Regions from separate parts of the Homo sapiens genome. Here region 2 is linked to region 1. Evidence: promoter capture Hi-C in 16 types of primary human blood cells and fetal thymus (Javierre and others, 2016). All regions are on one chromosome and are shown on one strand. Each heading gives the region's core, a stretch centred on a gene start or on the middle of the fragment in contact. The rest is flanking DNA. Distances are from core to core; before and after follow the strand shown. Region 1 holds the start of UHMK1 (U2AF homology motif kinase 1). Region 2 holds the start of OLFML2B (olfactomedin like 2B).

Region 1 (5,663 bases), core at 2,011-4,510:
GTGGCAGGCACGAATAATCCCAGCTACTTGGGAGGCTGAGGCAGGAGAATTGTTTGAACTCGGGAGGGAGAGGTTGCAGTGAGCCAAGATCGCACCATTGCACTCCAGCCTGGGTGAAATTCCATCTCAAAAAAAAAGCAAAACTCTGTCTCAAAAAAAAAAGAGGCCGGGCATGGTGGCTCACGCCTGTAATCCCAGCACTTTGGGAGGCTGAGGCAGGCAGATCACAAGGTCAAGAGATAGAGACCATCCTGGCCAACATGGTGAAAATACAAAATTAGCGGGGCGTGGTGGTGGATGCCTGTAATCCCAGCTACTCGGGAGGCTGAGGCAGGAGAATCGCTTGAACCCAAGAGGCGGAGGTTGCGGTGAGTCAAGATCGTGCCATTGCACTCCAGCCTAGGCAACAAGAGCGAAATTCCGTCTCAAAAAAAAAAAAGGAAATATATTTGGGGTTAAAATATTTGTATTTCCTTCTTTATCTGTCATGTGATGTTATGCCAGAGTTAGGTTGGAAAGTAAGTCACGTTATATGGGGTTAAACAAAACCCATCTTGTGGCCGGGTGCAGTGGCTCATGCCTGTAATCCTAACACTTTGGGAGGCCAAGGTAGGAGGATTACCTGAGGTCAGGAGTTCGAGGCCAGCCTGACCAACATGGCAAAACCCCGTCTCTACTAAAAATACAAAATTTAACCGGGCATGGTGGCGCATGCCTATAATCCCAGCTACTCGGGAGGCTGAGGTGGGAGAATTCCTTGAACCCAGGAGGCAGAGGTTGCAGTGAGCTGAGATCACGCCACTGCACTCCAGCCTGGGTGATAGAGTGAGACTTTGTCTCAAACAAACAAACCAACCAACCAACCTATCTTGTTACTGGAAAGTGGTCTCAATCCAGACCCCAGGAGAGGGTTCTTGGACCTCACGCAAGAAAGAATTCAGAATGAGTCCATAAAGCAAGTTTATTAGGAAGTAAAAGGGATAAAAGAATGGCTACTCCATAGGCAGAGCAACAGCTTAGGCTGCTCGACTTATAGTTATTCATATTTATAGTTATTTCTTGATTATATGCTAAACAAGGGGTGGATTATTCATGAGTTTTCCAGGAAAGGAGTGGGCAATTCCTGGAACTGAGGGTTCCTCCTCTTTTTAGACCATGTAGGGTAACTTCCAGGACGTTGCCATACCATTTGTAAATTGTAATGGTGCTGGTAAGAGTTTCCTTTAGCATGCTAATGTATTATAATTAGCATCTAATGAGTAGTAAGGACGACCAGAGGTCACCTTCACCACCATTTTGGTTTTGGTGGGTTTTGGCTGGCTTCTTTACTGCAATCTGTTTTATCAGCAAGGTCTTTGTGACCTGTATCTTGTGTTGACCTCCTATCTCATCCTGTGACTTAGAATACCTAACTTCCTGGAAATGCAGCCCAGTAGATCTGAGCCTTATTTTACCCAGCTCCTATTCAAGATGGAGTTGCTCTGGTTTGAACACCTCTGACAATCTGATGAGATTTTATGGTTTGTAGGCTGTGACTCCTCACATCCCTTAGATAAGAATTTGGGGCCAGGTGCAGTGGCTCACGCTTGTAATCCCAGCACTTTGGGAAGGTGAGGCAGGCGGATCACAAGGGCAGGAGTTCGAGACCAGCCTGACCAACATGGAGAAACTTCATCTCTACTAAAAATACAAAATTAGCTGGCATGGTGGCAAATTCCTGTAATTCCAGCTACTTGGGAGGCTGAGGCAGGAGAATCGCTGGACCCCAGGAGGAGGAGGTTGCGGTGGGCGGAGATGCCGAGATCATGCCATTGCACCCCAGCCTGGGCAACAAGAGCGAAACTCCGTCTTACCAAAAAAAAAAAAAAAAAAAAAAAAAATTGAGCAAGAGAGAAGACAGGTCAGAGTTTAGTCCTCAACCTCTCCTCAAACTTTCCACTTAGCACTACATGAACCATCTCATCTGGCTGGGAACTTACACAAAACCTGAAGAAAAGAAGATAGGGCCTATTGTCTGATACTAAGTTTTTGCCACACAATCAGAATAGATCTTGAAATAGAAAAGGTTGAATGACTGAAAAGTAAAGAAGGCTACATTTCTTACACACTCGAGTTTGTGGATTGAGATGCCTATTTGCTACATTTGTTACTCAATAAACGTTTGCTGAATGAATAAAATAATTGAATAAATAAATGAAAAATAAAAATTTGGAACAGATCCGTGTTTGCCCAGGGTGAATGCTTTTTGATGAGGGAGCCATAGGCAAGGTGGACTATGTTGATAAAAAGAGTTAAACTCTGTAAAATATTTGAAGAGATTTATTCTGAGCCAACTATGAGTGACCATGGTCTGTGACACAGCCCTCAGGAGATCCTGAGAACATGTACCCAAGGTGGTTGGGGTGCAGCTTGGTTTTATACATTTTGGGAGACATGAGACTTCAATCAAATATATTTAAGAAATACATTGATTTGGCCCAGAAAGGTGGGAAAACTCGAAGCGGGAATTGGTGGGGGGAGAAATGGGTCCTTCCAGGTTATAGGTAGATTTAAAATTTTTCTAATTGGCAATTGGTTGAAAGAGTTATCAATAGAAAGGAATGTCTGGGTTGTCATAAGAACTTGTGGAGACCAAAGTTTTGTCATGCAGATGAAGCCTCCAGGTACCAGGCTTCCAAGAAAATAGATTGTAAATGTTTCTTACCAGACCGAAGGTCTGTGTTGACCTTAACCGGAGAGGTATGAGGCTAGTCGGACCCCCACTTCCCGTCATGGACTGAACCAGAATTTTAGAGTGCCCTGGCCTGGGAGAAAGTCCATTCCGATGGTTGGCGACACGGGGGGCTTAGAATTGTATTTTCGGTTTACATCTAAAAGAAGAACAAAGGTCTAGGCTTCCAGAATCATGGGTTCTGGTGACCGTGGACCTGGAGGTGATGGTAAACTCTCTTTTTGTTCCTGGGGTGTTTTCCTTGGGATCCTTTCTATGAGAAATGTAGGCCGGGTTTTATTTTTCGGGTTCCTAGTGGTGAGGTAAGGTGAGGTGCCTCAACAAGAAAAAGGACCAGTTTTGGCTTCAGGTCTATGTGAAAGCGGTTAACACTGGGCCTGGAATGGTAGATACTCAATAATTAAGGTTACTTCTTATTCTCGGTTCTTTTTTCCAAACCTAGCGCGTCTAATCTCTTCTAGGCCCCGCCCCTTCTGAGCCCCCCCTCCTTCGGCCTGTATGATAGGCTCTTCCTCCATTTCCGGCTTCTGGGACTCGGGTGCACCACGGCTTCCGGTGTCATGGCTGCTTGAAGTCCCGGGAGTCGGTGAGGCGGCTGCAGGTCCCTCCCTGCGGAGCCGCTGGTCCGGCTGGCGGAGATGTGACCGCGGGCCCGGCCGGCCTGCCTCAGGCGTCGCGTCAGCTCCCGTGTCCGTGCCCTTAACCCACACCGATGGCGGGATCCGGCTGCGCCTGGGGCGCGGAGCCGCCGCGTTTTCTGGAGGCCTTCGGGCGGCTGTGGCAGGTACAGAGCCGTCTGGGTAGCGGCTCCTCCGCCTCGGTGTATCGGGTTCGCTGCTGCGGCAACCCTGGCTCGCCCCCCGGCGCCCTCAAGCAGTTCTTGCCGCCAGGAACCACCGGGGCTGCGGCCTCTGCCGCCGAGTATGGTTTCCGCAAAGAGAGGGCGGCGCTGGAACAGTTGCAGGGTCACAGAAACATCGGTAATTGCCGCTGTCTCCTTTCTCTTCTTGCCCAGGTCACAGTCCGAGCACACTCTTCCTCTCGCTGTCTGGCGTTCCATCTTCCTCCCCTTCTGCGGGAGAAGCGGGTTTAGCCCTCTTTATCACCCCATCCAGGCCCCTTTCCCCTTTCACTTTATTACTGTCTGCGGTATAGTGGAGTTGGTGGTCTGCTTTGCCAGGTGTCACATAGATGCTCAGTAAATTGTCTTGCTTCGAGTCTCATCGGAGAATGCCGCATTCATTAGCATACAGAAATATCTTTTCTAGTGAGAGGAGGCATGTCTTTGCTAGATTGTCGTGTCTTGTGTGGAAATTTTTGAATCTTTGCATACCAGTAGAAAATGGGAACTACGTCTGGGCCTTGTGACATCAATGCTAGTAACTCGTATAGCTCACCTATTATATCTTTAGTACGGATTTGGAAGAAATGATGCACTATTCCATGGGAGCCTTTATAGAAGTGTGAAATTTAGGAACACTATACCTTTGCTCTCTTGAGACTGTTTCAAGAATCAGATACTCAGAATGTAAGATATGTAATGATCACTGATGATTGATCTGTGAAAAGGTTTCATTTTCATTACACGACAGAAAGCTTATCATTAGTTATAGCTTTGGTTATTAAAGAAAAGTCTTATTTCCTAGCAAGTATGATGCATAGTTAATTTGAAGAGTGAGTTTTTTTATAATATCATTTTGGAGAAGAATTAACACTAGTGCTACATTTTTTTAGTTTACTAAATGGTCTGTTACTATAACCTTGGTATTGAAAAGGGAAAAATTTTGCAAGCCTAGGGACTTGCCTGATCTCTGCAAGATTAAAATTTCATCCGAAAAGTCTTAATCTCTTTGTTAGTATTTAGATTATAGAGAGCTGTTTATTTTTGTTTTAGTTTTTTTTTTTGAGACAAGTTCTTACTCTGTCACCCAGGCTGGAGTACAATGGCGAGATCACAGTTCACTCCAGCCTCCAATTCCTCCTAAAGCCATGCTCCTACCTCAGCCTCCCAGGTAGCTGGGACTACAGGCACGTAGCACCAAGCCTGGCTAATTTTTTGTAGAGAAGAGGTCCCCTTTTGTTACCCAGGCTGGTCTCCAAACTCCTGGGCTCAAGCAGTCCTCCTGCCTCGGTCTCTCAGAATGCTGGGATCACGGGCATGAGCCACCGTGGCAGACCTAGACTGCTGTTTTGGATGAAGAAGCAATGTTTAGTTTGGTTTTTGCGCATTGTGACATTCCTTTTAAAAGAGTTACTTAATATTTGGGTTTTTACTTTTAAAAATTTCTTTTTTTTTAAAGGACCTCATGATGCAACAGTAAGTTTTATTTATTTATATTTAGGTTTTTTACTTTTAATCATTTTTGCTTGGCACTCCAAGTTCGTGTTCATCACCAATGAGTACTTGGTGAAACACAAATTGAATAATTGTACCATATTTAGTATCTGTGAATGGTAATCAGCTGTTGTAGGCTGTCTCATCTTATTTTTATTAAAATAACCCAATTGCCAAAAGATCTTATTCATGGGAAAAATAAATTACAGTGGAAGCTTGCTCATCAAAGTTATCCTTATCTAGACTATCTCAAATTTGTACTGCAGTTACCTACTTTAGTAGTGACTTACTCTGAGTCTGATTTTTAAAGTATTATAATTTCTTTTTCTAGTGACTTTGTATGGAGTGTTTACAATCCACTTTTCTCCAAATGTGCCATCACGCTGTCTGTTGCTTGAACTCCTGGATGTCAGTGTTTCGGAATTGCTCTTATATTCCAGTCACCAGGGTTGTTCCATGTGGATGATACAGCATTGTGCCCGAGATGTTTTGGAGGCCCTTGCTTTTCTTCATCATGAGGGCTATGTCCATGCGGACCTCAAACCACGTAACATATTGTGGAGTGCAGAGAATGAATGTTTTAAACTCATTGACTTT
Region 2 (5,663 bases), core at 1,675-4,174, 470 kb before region 1:
TGAGGTGCTGTGAAGGATAAAGAGATGGGCCAGATGGAGAGCCTGCTCTCAAGAAGCCTACAGTGCAGGAGGCATAGAAATAGCAGTCACACAGAGTACAGAGTGATAAGTGCCCCCGAAGAGGCAGAGGGAAAGGGCAGTGGGAGCTAAGAGCGGCTCCAACTGGAAGCCAGGGAAGACTTCTTCGAGGAGTGGCATTTAATCTGGGCCTTGAAGGATGGGTTAGATGTGGAGAAAGGGAATTGAGAGGAAAGAGGCAGGTCCAGAAGTTAGTAAGGTTTACTCAGTCTAAGAGTTCATGCTTCTGAACCTAAACCCCAGGCCAAACCCAGGAAAGCAAACTGGCAGCACTTGCTGCTTTTGCAATGCTAAACATTTCCTTCTGGGCACTTGCCCCTGCCAGCCTCCCCAGGCAGGAAAACACGCGACAGTAGGCTTTCTGGAGCCCCAACTCTGGGCGCTTGCTGGGAAAAGGCTCTTCTCTCCCAATCCTCTCCAAAAGGCCCTACATCCCCAAAGCCAGGGCTCCCTTCCTAGGCAGGCAGAAGGGTTCCCTTCATTTGATTAATGATTTCAGTGGGCAAGCATTGAGCTTGTTTGAGTAGAAATGTTCCTTGGGATGCTGTCTGGGGGAAGAAGACTTGTAATGTTTTCCTTGCAAAGATTGGGTTTCTTCTAATACTAATATTTGCTTTAGGGCTGTTGTCAAACACAGAATGGATCAGTGGAAGAAGGTGGTGTAGTTAAGGGTGACTTAAGCGGCTGTTCTTTACGGGCTGATAGTAAATTGTGGCTGTCTGCTCTCTGAAACTCTGCCTGGATTCCTACATAACCCTGCTCTGAGAACCCTGGGTGGATTCCTTCCTTACAGGAGGCTCGGGTTTCAGGAAAGTTTTTGTTGATAGTGTTCCAGAGCCCCAGTGTGAGAGATTTTTATGTCTTTTCGATTTAGGGGTCAGTGGGAGGTAATGGGGGGGCAGAGGGCATACATTAGCATCATTATTAAAGGAAGAGTGAGGAGGCTAGTGTTTGATAAATCCCAAAGTGCAGCTGATTATTCTCTCTACAGGAAGGAGACAAGGCCCAGTCCTAGGGCTTGGTGGAGGTGAAGGTACAGGCAGCCCTGGAGGATCCTTTTTCAGACATCCCCCATTCTGAGGATTCTGGTGACACCCACCACACGTCATCATGCCGGCTCTGGAGAGCACAAAATAAACACTCCAGAGAGAACTACCCCTTACAGACATGAGATCTGGGCTGAAGACTGTCAGACGCCCTGGCTCTACCCATGTATCTCTTCTTTTTTTTTTTTTTTTTTTTTTTTGAGACGGAGTCTCACTCTGTCACTCAGGATGGAGTGCAGTGGCGCGATCTCCGCTTACTGCAACCTCCACCTCCCGGGTTCAAGCGATTCTCCTGCCTCAGCCTCCTGAGTAGCTGGGACTACAGGTGCCTGCCACCACGCCTGGCTAATTTTGGTATTTTTAGTAGAGATGGGGTTTCATCATATTGGCCAGGCTGCTCTTGAACTCCTGACCTCGTGATCTGCCCGCCTCGGCCTCCCAAAGTGCTGGGATTACAGGCGTGAGCCACCGCGCCCGGCCTACCCATGTATCTCTTATGGTCTTTATCTATAAATGGGTATTAGGGTGTTTTGAAGATTGAGTCAGAAAAAACAAGTTTAAGTACTTGGTAAACGGACACTTTACGAAGCCCATCACTATCATGGGTTACTCGGGCCCCCACTGACAGTCTGCCCTAGCTGCCTGCATCTGCATTCCCACTCTCCCCTCCCAGTACACTCCGTCATGTTCTCAGTCTCTCTGTTTGGGGGTCACCTCACATTCATCACACATGCTTCTGTTCTGACTTCACCCCATGCTCCCGCCTGGTGTCCCACCCTCTGCCATAAAGTATCTCCCGATGGGATATGCCATCTGCCTCCTGGTCAACATATCCGGCTGTTTTCACATTCCAATTCTGACAGACAGCCACATAGACAAGAGATACTTTTTACAACCCTGAAACCAAAAACAACTTTGTTTTCTTTCTTCTCAAGAAGTCGAGCGGCATCTTCCCTTCCTTCACCTCTCCTTTCTCCTGATTTGATGACCTTTAAGCACCCTATGATTTTGCGAGGAGAACCTATATCCTTCCATTAAGAAAATATTCCGATACATGAAAAATCAAAAGCCCTTTCCATTGGTAATGGAAGGAAAAACAGCTGCCCTCAAACACTTCAGCAAGGACCAGCTTCTGGCTCTCACCACCATCCAGGGCAAGAAGGGCGGTCGTGGCACTCTGCATCCTACCTGAGATAAAACGTTCTCCTGGTTGTCCGCCTCGTTTTGCAGAGTCTCGTCCTCCGCAGGCGCCACTGTCTGCGCATCTGGGGGCTCGCTTGTCCCTGTGAGGACAATGCTGGACACCCAGGCCGGAACCACAATCAGAGCGAAGTAGAGAACTAGCAGCCGAGGCTTGGCCATGAGGGGCGCGATAAGAGTGTCCTCAGCCCCTTCAGAGAATGGCTGGGGCGGGGGGTCTCGGCAAGGACTTCTGCGAGAGGGTGTCCTCGCTAGAGCCCGAAAGTGGCTGCTGAGAGCACCTTCTAAAGCTGGGTGCGGCTGAGCGGGACGGGAGGGTGCGCCCCAGAGACTCTGGGCATCTCCTTCCCGACGCGAGCAGCCCTCGACTGTGCAGCCCCAGTGGAGAGCCGGACGCAAGGAAGAGGGGATGACGGAGAAGGTGGAGGCGGGCACGGGCTAGCTGAGCGAGTCGCCCGCAGGAGGGCTCAGGTGGCTGGAAGGCGTTCGGACAGACGCCCGCGGTGCGCGCCGGGACGGGCGGCGGGGAGCCTCGGGACGCACGGGGACCGGACACGGGGAGGGAAGAGGCGGTGGCGGCGCGGGCTGCTGGGCGAGGGCTGCTGGGCTAGGGAGCCGCGGAGAGCTCGCGCGGAAGGAGGGCGGAGCCTCTATTGTGCCGGGGCGGCGGAGATGCAGCCAGTGACCGCGCGGAGGAGGAGGACCTGGAAGCGCACAGGGCTCGGGCGGAGGGGTACCCGGCGGACCCCGTCCCCGCTGGGACTCAGCTGCCGCGCGCCGGCTGAGGGTGACGTTGGAAGGGCTTTACTTTCTTCTCATCTGATCGCAAGTGAGTGAAGAGAAGTTACTCCGAGCGGCGTCCCTGAAGTTTTGGGGTTCGACCATTCTTGGCGAGAAGAGCGACTTTCCATCGCAGGCACCCAGCGCTCGCTCCAAGGCTGAGCTAGTTAGGGATCTGCGGCATCGTCCTTTAGCACACCTGGGGCAGGGGAGAAGGCGCGTTTGTTCCCAGGCGTTTCTTTTCCCTGACTTAACTCTGGGCGAGTTCTCGGGCAGCTTTGAACTTAGCGCCGTTGGTAGCTGCTTGCCTGCCACGGCTTTAGAACCTAGTAATACCTCCACCCAGAGGAAAATCATTGAATTCCTTCCTAGAGTGTGTCCTGAGTTGTGTAAACGTTGAAAGTTAGGGGAATGACTGTACATCTCCGACACTCTCCGCGAGTCCCCATGGGGAAAGCTACTGCCTGATAAATGATTACCAAAGGGAACAGCTCTTCCTGTCTTCCTGGTTTGGGACAAATCTCCGGGTCTCTGTTACCAGATTATCTCTAAGAGGGAGTCCACTTTCAATAGTGTGCAATTATGTTACTATGTCCCTCAATTACTGAGGACAACCTTTTATAAACCTACAGTGAAGATTACCAATATGTGAATTTAAGGAAGGGCACTGTGCCATCCTGGACAACTGTCACTCGGAATATTGAACAGAGCCAGGCCCCTTCAAAGGATATTATGCACCCTTGGGAAATTCAAACACCTTGCTTCTTATGCTGAGGAATAAGGGTTGTAATAAACTAAGGAAACTAGCGCATATAAGTAATAGTTGACATAAGTATAATAATAACCCTTATTAGTATATTTTAATCTTCAAAAAATTCAGTTTATGGACAAAAATTCAATGCTCTGGGTGTCTAGGTTTGTGGGGACATCATGCACACACCCTCCTCTGTGTAAGCTATCAAATCTTTTCTGAAACTATATGGGGGTAAACATTGATAAAATGTGGTGTATTTGATTGTTTGTTTGAGACAGAGTCTTGCTCTGCCACCCAGGCTGGAGTGCAGTGGCGGGATGATCTTGGCTCACTGCAACCTCCGCCTCCTGGGTTCAAGTGATTCTCGTGCCTCGACCTTCAGAGTACCTGGGATTACAGGCGCACGCCACCATGCCCGTTTAATTTTTTGTATTTTTACTAGAGTTGGGGTTTCGCCGTGTTGCCAGGCTGGTCTCGACCTCCTGGCCTCAAGCCATCCATCCGCCTTGCCCTCCCAAAGCACTGGGATTACAGGGGTGAGCCACTGTGCCCCACCGATAAAGTGTAGTTTTAAAATTCAGTTAAGGGGCGGAGTGTGGTGGCTCACCCCTGTAATCTCTACTGAAAATACAAAAATTAGCCTAGCCTGGTGGCATGCACCTGTAATCCCAGCTACTCTAGAGGCTGAGGCAGAAGAATCGCTTGAACCCTGGAGGCAGAGGTTACAGTGAGCCGAGATCCGCCACTGCACTATAGCCTGGGCTACAGAGCAATACTTGGTCTCAAAAAAAAAAAAAAAATCAATTACAGTAAGCATTGAATGTTGATTAAGTGCAAGACAACAAGCTAGGTTGCTAGACATTTAATGGGAAGATGAGATAGTCCACATCTTACAAAGTGGGCGTGGGAGTCAGGAGGTAAGCAGAACAAGCACTGAAATTGTGAGGCAGAGTAAGAACATATCTCATGGGGTTTAAATAAGGAATAGGTCACTTCTAGTGGAAAGGTCAGTGTGGATTTCATGAAAGCATGATACTGAAGATGACTGGGATGATGGGAGGTTTCAACAAAACAGTGGATAAGGCAACATGATGGGAGGGGGGGCCATGGCAGGGGAGAGAAAGAGAGCATTCTGGGCAAAGACATAATCCTGAATGTGCATATTCATATTTCAGATGGCTGCTCACTTCTCAGGGCAGCCTTCCTTGACTCCACCACCAGCATAATTTCTCTATTAAATGCTCCCATAATACCATGTACCTCTTTTTCATAGAAGCAGGAGAGATGGATATTTATATTCCTCCTTTGTGGGTTGTTTTGGGGGTGCCTGTCTTCCCCACCAGACTATAAATTCAAGAGGGCAAGGACCTTGTTAGTTTTGCTCACCATTACATCTTCAGAGTTTAACCAGTGCCTAGAACAAAGTGGACACTAAATAAATATTGGTTGAATGAATGGAAATTACGAATTGTCCAACTGGGTGTAGGCTCAGTTACCTTTATAAATACCATCTCTGTATCCATTAGGGTGCATTTGACTGCAAGTGATAGAAAATCCTTCTAGGAATGTCTCAGTCAAATATACATTTATTATCCCACTCTAAGAAGACAAGCTTGGCTGTTTAAAATTTAATTCAGCAACTCAGTGATGTCAGCGAGGACCCAAGCTCTTTCCATTTTCCACTCCATTATTCTTACAGCATTGGCTTTTTGACCTAGTCATAATTGATTTAAGCAAGTCCCAGCTACCCCTGTGCCAGACATTCAATTTCCCAGTCTCCTTTACAGCTAGGGGTAACCACCCGG

Evidence for each region. Contacts are between HindIII fragments. The CHiCAGO score rates a contact against its expected background, and 5 or more counts as called.
Region 2: a contact is called between the fragment with the promoter of OLFML2B here and the fragment with the promoter of UHMK1 in region 1, in 3 of 17 cell types (M2 macrophages, M0 macrophages and M1 macrophages). The highest score is 5.8, in M2 macrophages.

The regions. Positions count from the first base shown.
Region 1 is chr1:162,494,558-162,500,220 of GRCh38, forward strand. It overlaps UHMK1 (U2AF homology motif kinase 1), which reads left to right and starts at 3,261. Exons shown (of 8, transcript NM_175866.5): 1 at 3,261-3,711; 2 at 5,398-5,663. The coding sequence starts at 3,444. RefSeq lists enhancers at 2,997-3,497, 3,232-3,311, 3,498-3,998. The HindIII fragment of the contact is 6,861 bases long and covers 1-4,325 here.
Region 2 is chr1:162,020,945-162,026,607 of GRCh38, forward strand. OLFML2B (olfactomedin like 2B) reads right to left here and starts at 2,925. Exons shown (of 8, transcript NM_015441.3): 1 at 2,313-2,925. The coding sequence starts at 2,486. RefSeq lists silencers at 3,037-3,186, 3,255-3,549. The HindIII fragment of the contact is 12,162 bases long and covers 1-5,468 here.